Linked DNA regions of Homo sapiens: region 2 is linked to region 1. The links are contacts of gene promoters, found by promoter capture Hi-C in blood cells and fetal thymus (Javierre and others, 2016). All regions are on one chromosome and are shown on one strand. The core of a region is centred on a gene start or on the middle of the fragment in contact, and the rest is flanking DNA. Distances in the headings are between cores, read along the strand shown.

Region 1 (4,433 bases), core at 1,478-3,977:
GGGAATCTCCCTCACCTACTTCTCCCCGTGGCGACACCTTGTGTAACTGTCGTTCAGAATGGAAACCAGGAAATCAACACAGAAACCAAACTATTAATGAGACTACAGATCACACTGCGCGTTCATTTTTCACACGCATTTCTTTGCACGTGTGTGTGTGCACGTGGGCTTCTGTGTCTCTTTATCTCATGTGTAGAATCGTGTAATCACCGCCACATCCAGTGCAAAGCTGATTCGTCACCACAGAGCAGCTCCCTCCTGCCACCCCATCCCTGGGTCCCAAGAGAACCCTTTCTTAAAAGAGGGAGTTCTTGACGGGTGTGGTGGCTCATGCCTGTAATCCTTGCACTTTGGGAGGCCAAGGAGGGTGGATCATTTGAGGTCAGGAGTTTGAGACCAGACTGGCCAACATGGTGAAACCCTGTCTTTACTAAAAATACAAAAAAATGAGCGGGGCATGGTGGTGGGTGCCTATAGCCCCAGCTACTCAGGAGGCTGAGGCAGGAGAATCGCTTGAACCCAGGAGGCAGAGGTTGCAGTGAGCCGAGATTGAGCCACTGCACTCCAGCCGGGGCTAAAGAGTGAGACTCTGTCTCAAAAAAAAAAAAAAGAAAAAGAAAAAAAGAAAAAAAAATAAAATAAATAAATAAATAAAATAAATTTAAAAATTTAAAAATAAAGAGGGGGTTCTTGTGTTGATGCCGAGCCTGAACCAAGGCAGAGGAGGCCGGGAAGGCTTCCCAAGGCCTTCAGCTCAAAGCAGGGAGGCCCATAGTTAAACAGAAACAGTTCAGGAATCACAGAAAGGCACCTGGGGAGAGATGGGTGTGTGGCTCCAGATGCAGGTGCCCAGACAGTGCGTCCCCAGGTGTACAGACAGACCCAGGCCAAGCTCCAGCTCAAAGAGCCAGCCTAGGGGGGTGCCGAGGTGGAGGGAGGCTGAGTCAGGCTGAGGCCGGGGAACAGTTGGGGTAGCCAAGGGAGGCAAGCAGCCTCCTGAGTCACCACGTGGTCCAGGTACGGGGCTGCCCAGGCCCAGAGACGGACACAAGCACTGGGGAATTTAAGGGGCTAGGGGAGGGGCTGAGGAGGGTAGGCCCTCCCCCAAATGAGGATGGAACCCCCCCAACTCCAGAACCCCCCTGCAGGCTGGCCAGAATCCTTCCCCATCTCATTCACTCTGTCTCTCCTGCTCTCTGCCGTCTCCTATTTTGAATTTCCAACCCCGTCTGTTAAGACTGTCCTTCTGTCTCTGAATCTCTGTCCCCTTCTCTTTCTGGGTCTCTCTCCCTCTCCCTCTGGGTCTCTGTCCCCCTCTCTGGGTCTCTGTCACTCTCTCTTTGCATCTCCAGCTCTCACTTTGTCTCTGCACCTAGCAGATCCCAAGCTGGGGAATGCCAGTTCTGGCACCAACCTTCCTGCTCCCTGCTGGGGCCTCTGCTCCCCCATCTCTCAGGAGTCGAAAGTGAGAAAGCAAGGTGGGCAGCTCTGCTCCAGGTCCAGGTATCTCCCGCCCACCTCCTGCCCGTCCTCTATCCCACCCCTCCTCTCCATCTCTCCCTGGCGCTGCCATCTCTCATCTAGGCCTCCGTCTCCTCTGTCATTGTCCCCATCCCCTGTAGGTGCCCATCCTTCCCGTCTCCCCTCTGCCATCGGCCTGCCTGTCCCATCCTCTTTCTCCCACCATGTCCCGTTCTCTTCCACGTCTCATGCCCGCACTGCCTTCATCATCATCGCTGTTGTTCTGTGTGTGTTTGTGGTGAGTGCCGCATGGTGGGGGCGTCTCGGCCTCTCTCCTCTCTCTCCACTGTTTTCTCTTTCTGTGTGTCTGTTTCCATTCTATCTCCACCTTCTTCCCTCCGTCTTTTGCTTTTCTATCTCCACTTCTCCACACCCCTCTCTCCCTGCGTCTCTGTGTCTCCCTCTTCCTCTGTCTTGTTTTTTTCCCACCGTCTGCCTCTTCTGTTCCCTGTCACATCCAACTTCCACCGGTTTCTCCAGCTCTCTCCTCAGTTCCTTCTCTCATGAGCACACCTGCCTCTGTGCTCGTATTCCTGGACTCCTCTCTCTCCACTGTCATATCTTCTCATTCATTTTCCCAGTCTCTCTCTGTCTCTTGCTCTCCCCCTCTCTGTCACTCTGTCTCTGTCTCTCTCTTTCTCTCTCTCTCTCTGTGTCTCTCTGTCTGGCTCTCTCTCTGTCTCTCTCTCCATCTCTCTCTCTCTCTCCCCCCCGTCACCCTGTCTCTGTCTCTCTCTGTCTGTGTGTCTCTCTGTCTTTCTCTCTCTCCATCTCTCTCTGTCTCTCTCTCTCTCTCTCTCTCTCTCCCTCTCTCCCTCCTCCCGTGACTCCCTCTCTCAGTCCATCTCTTCCTCCCTCTCTCAGCCCCTTCGTGCCCTTTCCTCTGACACTCCCCACCCTGGTTTCCTGACTCCACCACTAGATCCACCACCTCCAGCAACTGGGAACCCTCCCCTGCCCACCCTGCCCTGGGGTCCCCTCCCAGGATTCCTTCTAGATTATAGCATCTTCCCTGGGCGGGTTCTCATGAACAATTGTGGCTGCTTTTTTGGCCAGACAGGGGAGGGAGGGGATGGGATCAGGGAGTCCTGGAATGGGAACTAGGCAATAAAAAAAAAAAAATGTCAGAAGCAGGGCGGCGGGAGGTGGGGGCAGGGCCAGCTGTCCTTACCAGGGATAAAAGGCTTTGCCAGTGTGACTAGGAAGAGAGACACCTCCCCTCCTTCCTTCATCAAGACATCAAGGAGGGACCTGTGCCCTGCTCCACATCCTCCCACCTGCCGCCCGCAGAGCCTGCAGGCCCCGCCCCCCTCGTCTCTGGTCCCTACCTCTCTGCTGTGTCTTCATGTCCCTGAGGGTCTTGGGCTCTGGGTAAGTGCCCCTTGCTGTCTCTGCCTCTCAGCCCCCGGTTCTGTTGAAGGTTCCTTCTCTCTCACTTTTTCTCTGCATTTGACAGGACCTGGCCCTCAGCCCCTAAAATGTTCCTCCTGCTGACAGCACTTCAAGTCCTGGCTATAGGTAAGAGAACGGTTGGGTATGACACAAGGGGGTCCCCTGGAGACTCTGAGAAGAGATGGGGATGGGTCCTTGGGGCCCCTGGATGCTCATGGTGACCTCATAAGAAAGAGCAGGGAGTGGTTTGGGGGTCATGGTGGGGGAACGTGCTGGAGGCCTAAATTCCTAGTTGTGGAGGTGCTAGGGAATTGTGGGGCCGGGGAGAGAGGTGTTTATAAGGTCTGGTGCAAAATACATAAGGAATCTTAGGGAACTATTAGGTCCTGAGTGGGTCATAGCAGAAAGATCACGGGGCTCTACCTGACTGTGTTAGGAAAGAAACAATGTCAGAAAGATGTTTTGTTGTCAGAGGGAAGGTGGAGAAGGATGATGGGATGGCGGGATCGTGGCATGGGGTGGCGGGATCGTGGCATGGGTGTGTGAGGTGGATGGGGGCAAGTGTGGGGCAAGAGATGGCGGATCCTTGGGGTCCCACTGAGTGGGAACGTTGGGGAGGAGACAGGGAGGTCCTTGAATGTGTTGGGGAAGGACTCATTGGGGGGAAATGTGGCATATTTCGAGAAGTGATCACAGAAATTATGGGAGCATAGAGCTAAGGGTCGTAGATGTAGCAAGGCCCTGGATAAGGTGGCCACGGCACAAAATAAGAGATGCTACGGAGGTGACTTGGGAGGTGAGTCAGAAAGCTCTCCGTGCTGGGGCAATAACGGGGTCAATATTGGGCATGTCTCACCCTGGGTGGGACAGATAGAGGCGGGCAGTTTAGGGGTTAGACCAAAAGGAAGGGGATTTGTCAGTTTTGGAATCCTACAAACTTGTGGAGTGGAGAGTGTTTGCTCATCTACTTTCCCCACCCAATCCTGTCCACTCCTAGCCATGACACAGAGCCAAGAGGATGAGAACAAGATAATTGGTGGCCATACGTGCACCCGGAGCTCCCAGCCGTGGCAGGCGGCCCTGCTGGCGGGTCCCAGGCGCCGCTTCCTCTGCGGAGGCGCCCTGCTTTCAGGCCAGTGGGTCATCACTGCTGCTCACTGCGGCCGCCCGTAAGTGACCCCCTCCCCTGTCCCTGTACCTAGTGAATTCCAGAGTCTAAAGCCCTAGAGCTGAGCTGAGAACCTGGATCTCTGTATAGAACCCAATGTAGTGGCTGGCTCCTGGTTTGAGGTCTAGAGAAGAGCCTGGAACAAAAACACAGCTCGGGATGTGGGCTCCTCCATAAATCTCGAACTCAGCATAGGTTCTGAAAGCAGATGGGCAGCTTGGAACCCATGGACCTGCTGAGAACCGAACATCTGATCCAGTGATTCTTCCAGAGGCCACACATTACATCGAGACCAAGCTTAGCCCATTCCAGATTGGTGGCTGAATTCAGGACCCCGTCTACATTCAGAAAC
Region 2 (4,160 bases), core at 834-3,333, 510 kb before region 1:
GGTGGCAGGCACCTGTAAGCCCAGCTACTCAGGAGACTGAGGTAGGAGAATCGTTTTAACCTGGCACACGGAGGTTGCAGTGAGCCTAGACTGCACCACTGCGCTCCATCCTAGGTGACATAGTGAGACTCCATCTCAAAATAATAATAATAATAATAATAATGATAGCAGAGTATTCCAGCCTTAGCTCCTACAAGGTAGCCCCTCTACCTGCCAATGTGTGTACCAATGTGTCCAGAATTGGTTCCTTCCCCTGGGTTCTTGGTCTCGCTGACTTCAGGAGTGAAACCGCAGACCTTCGCAGTGTTACAGCTCATAAAGGTAGTGCGGACCCAAAGAGCGAGCTGCAGCAAGATTTATTGTGAAGAGCAAAAGCACAAATCTCCCACAGCGTGGGAGGGGACCCAAATGAGTTGCCGCTGCAGGCTCGGTGGCTAGCTTTTATTCCCTTATTTGGCCCCACCCACATTCTGCTGATTGGTCCATTTTACAGAGCACTGATTGGTTCATTTTACAGAGCGCTGATTGGTCCATTTTACAGAGTGCTTATTGGTCTGGTTTTACAGAGTGCTGATTGGTCTGGTTTTATAGAGTGCTGATTGGTGCGTTTACAAACCTTTAGCTAGACACAGAGCACTGATTGGTGTGTTTACAATCTTTTAGCTGGACGGAAAAGTTCTCCAAGTGCCCACCTGACCCAGAAGCCCAGCCAGCTTCATCTCTCACTAAGATGATGTCAGAGACCCAGAGGCTTGAAAAACCTGCCTTACTCCATCGTAGGGAGCCACACGTACTACCCACATGAGCCTTCAGTAGGCTCCGGCCCTAAATAGGCACATGCGTATTTCCCCAGCTCCTTACTGGGATCCTCCCGCTAAGCCACGCCCGATGCCCTTGTCTACAGCCATGAGCTGCAGTAAGATGCCCAGGCCCGGTGCCAGCGTGCGCAGCACGTGTGCCAGCACCGTGGAATCCTTGCCGCCCGAGGTGCCCAGGGCCACCACTGCGCCTGGCGGCAGCAGGTAGCCCACAAGCACCATGTGCTGCACCTCCGCCTCGAAGGCGGTGCAGAAGCAGGAACCGCACAGCACTTGGCCCGAGCATGGACGGCGGAGGGAGGCGCATGCCACGTGGCAGGAGGCACATGACGGGGCGGGCATTGCAAGAAGGGACAGCTTCTCCTAGACCGGGAGAGGAGGCGGGTTACACATGTTTCATTGCCTTTGAGGAGTTCCCTAGATAGTGCCCCTGCCTGGAATAGACCAGGGGCAGCTGTGGCTGCTGCTCTTATATACGTGGGTTATAAATGGGTTCTGGTGTAAGAAGGCCACTGCCTCCAGGAAGGCTTCCTGGACTGCACCCATTATGCACCAAGAAGAGAAGGAACTTAAGCTGATTTCAGGGGGAAAAAGAGGGAGCAACAAGCAGGTTATACCCAGAATTAGATCGTGTCCTGTCCAAAGGGGTGAGGGCGTCTATTAAGGACCAGTTGTAACAACTTCCAGGAGGCCACCCATGTTACAGCCCTGATCAGAAGGTAGATATTACTGACTATTCAGAGAGATTGGGAGGGGAGGGGTCAGAGACTCTTAAGGACAGAGGGAGGTCATGCTCTGTTCAAGGGAAGGGGGCTATACAGAAAAGACCAATTGGATTTCACTTTCAGGGGTCGGGGTGGGCATTCTGTCTCCAGGAATGGGTCCTGATTGTGTCTTACAAGGACATACACAGGCAGGCTAGATCAACCTCTAGGGAGACTAGCAGGGGTTGCACCTATTTTTGAGGTGAGGGTGTGTAGGCCTCCAGTTCTGAACTTAACCCCGCTCTGGTATCAGAATCCACCTAAGCTTCTGTGGCCCCCGAAAGACACAGAGAGGTTGGGAGGGGAGGGGTCAGTGATGGGGTTGGCTCATCCTTGGCCCCCAACTGTTCTCTTTCCTACCTCATCCCTCCCCACCCAGCCAAGACTCTAACTGTCCCATCGAACCTCCTTCGTCCCACTTGTCTGGTGAACCCATAAAAACTCCCCAGGCTTAGTCCCCCTCCTCAAGCCACCACCACCTCCAGCCTGCACTACTGCCGTCACATCCTTGCCATTCAGAGCAGGTCACGCTGCTTCTAGGATTTACCACAATGTGTGGAATTATTTCATATGACTGTGTATTTACCGTCTCTAACTTACATGCAAGTAAAGACCAGTGCCACTCAGATGTCTAATAAGCATCTCAAAACCCAAATTCCTGATTCCTCTAACCTAACGGGCTTCTCCTGGAGTACAGGGCAGCTCCATCCCTTCCAGCTGCTCAGGCCAGAAGCTTTGGGGTCCAGGACCCTGGACTGCTCTTTCTATCACTACAGTTGTCACTCTCCCAGTGGGTGGAGCCAAATTGCAATGCTAAGTCCGGACCCTTTCAAACTCCAGGTGCTCAAATGAAAAGTCACACATATTGTTTGACTATAGCTTCAAAACAGCCAAACACTTCTGACCATCTCCATGGCAGCACCCTAGTCAGGTCTGCCTCTCTCCTAGATGGCTGCAGGGGGCTCCTCACAGGTCTCCATGCTCCCTGCCTTGCCTCCTCCACACACACTCCTTCATATAACAGCCAGTGGGATCCTGCCCTGCATCTCATCTCACTTTAGTAACTACTGGCTGGGCACAGTGGCTCACGCCTGTAATCCCAGGACTTTGGGAAGCCGAAGCGGGTGGATCACAAGGTCAGGAGTTCAAGACCAGTCTGGCCAAGATGGTGAAACCCTGTCTCTACTAAAAATACAAAAAAATTAGCTGGGCATGGTGGTGGGCACCTGTAATCCCAGCTACTTGGGAGGCTGAGGCAGAGAATTGCTTGAACCTGGGAGGCGGAGGTTGCAGTGAGCCGAGATCGTGCCATTGCACTCCAGCCTGGGTGACAGAGCGAGACTCTGTCTCAAAAAAACAAAAAACAAAATGTAACTGCTAATGGCCGACGAGGCCCTACAGGCTCTGGCTCCTTGTTTCTCTGTCCTCATCTCCTTCCACTCTCCTTCTTGCTTACTGGTGTCTACTCTTGAGTACCCCCAGGAACACTCTTGTCTCTAGTTGTTTTCACTGGCTCTTCTCTTTGCCCAAAGCACTCTTCCCTGTCACTGAGCCATCAAGCAGCCCTCAGGACTCAACTGCGGTGATGTCAGGTACATCTGTCACAGCGGAGCAAAGTCCCCTTTGAAATACTTTCTCCCACAGCTTTTGATTTAGTCCTCCCTCTTTGTTCTTGTTTTTTGCCTCCTGCTTAATATCTTCTGGGGAGGCCTCTTCACAGTCCTCATATCCTGCCCATCACCCCTCTTCTCATTCTGTTTGTGGGTGACTCTGAATCGCAATGTCCACCAGCCTGGCCCTCCAAATGCCCCACGGAAGATCCCATCTAGGCCTCTCATATCTCAGTGCCCAACTGACCAGCTCTCACACCCCAAGGCAGAAACTTACCTAACCAAGCTCCCCGTCTCCCGGAAGCAACACCACCTTTCACCCAGCTTCTCTATGGAAGACAACTCAGCTTTTTCAACCTCTGAATCTGCAGTCACCTAGTACTGGGGTTCACTTCCTGAGGTCCTTATCAGATCCAGTTGCATCCCTGTTTTAGTTACCTACTCACCTCAGCCAGATGAACTTCCCATTGGTTTTTCAACCCCTTGCATCTTTGGCCAGGCTGATCTCATTGCGCAAGACACTTCCCTAAACACTGTGGTAGACCTAACTCTTACCTTCAAGTCTCAGCTCAAACTTTCATTCATTCATTTAACAAATACCCACTGAGTGCCGCCTATGTACCCAGCATGCTCTAGGTACTGGGACACAGCAGTGAGCAAGATAGGAAAGGTTGCAGCTGTCAGGGCACTGATGTTCTAATGGAGGAACCAGGCCATGGATAAGGAAGTAAATGACTAAGATGCTTTCCAAATACGAGGGAATTATCTTTGGTGGTATGACTGGGGGGGGGGGAACAGGGAGGGGGTTCTTTAGGGTGGCTGGAGGCCTTTGAGCTGAGGCCAACAAAATGAGTAGACAGATATTGGGTCAGGGTGGGAAGAATGCTCCAAATTGAGTTAATAGCAAATGCAAAGGACATGAAGGGCAGGGCCTGGCTGTGTTCAGCCCATTGGAAAGTGTGTTGTGA

The links. Contacts are between HindIII fragments. The CHiCAGO score rates a contact against its expected background, and 5 or more counts as called.
Region 2: a fragment that was not itself captured here is called in contact with the fragment with the promoter of KLK14 in region 1 in 1 of 17 cell types (fetal thymus); the score reaches 6.7 in fetal thymus.

The regions. Positions count from the first base shown.
Region 1 is chr19:51,081,181-51,085,613 of GRCh38, reverse strand. KLK14 (kallikrein related peptidase 14) reads left to right here and starts at 2,727. Exons shown (of 6, transcript NM_001369775.2): 1 at 2,727-2,892; 2 at 2,978-3,039; 3 at 3,911-4,082. The coding sequence starts at 3,000. The HindIII fragment of the contact is 24,105 bases long and covers 1-4,380 here.
Region 2 is chr19:51,595,544-51,599,703 of GRCh38, reverse strand. It overlaps the pseudogene LOC339352. Among named protein-coding and RNA genes, the nearest start is that of LINC01530, 3.2 kb to the right of the region's middle. The HindIII fragment of the contact is 468 bases long and covers 1,850-2,317 here.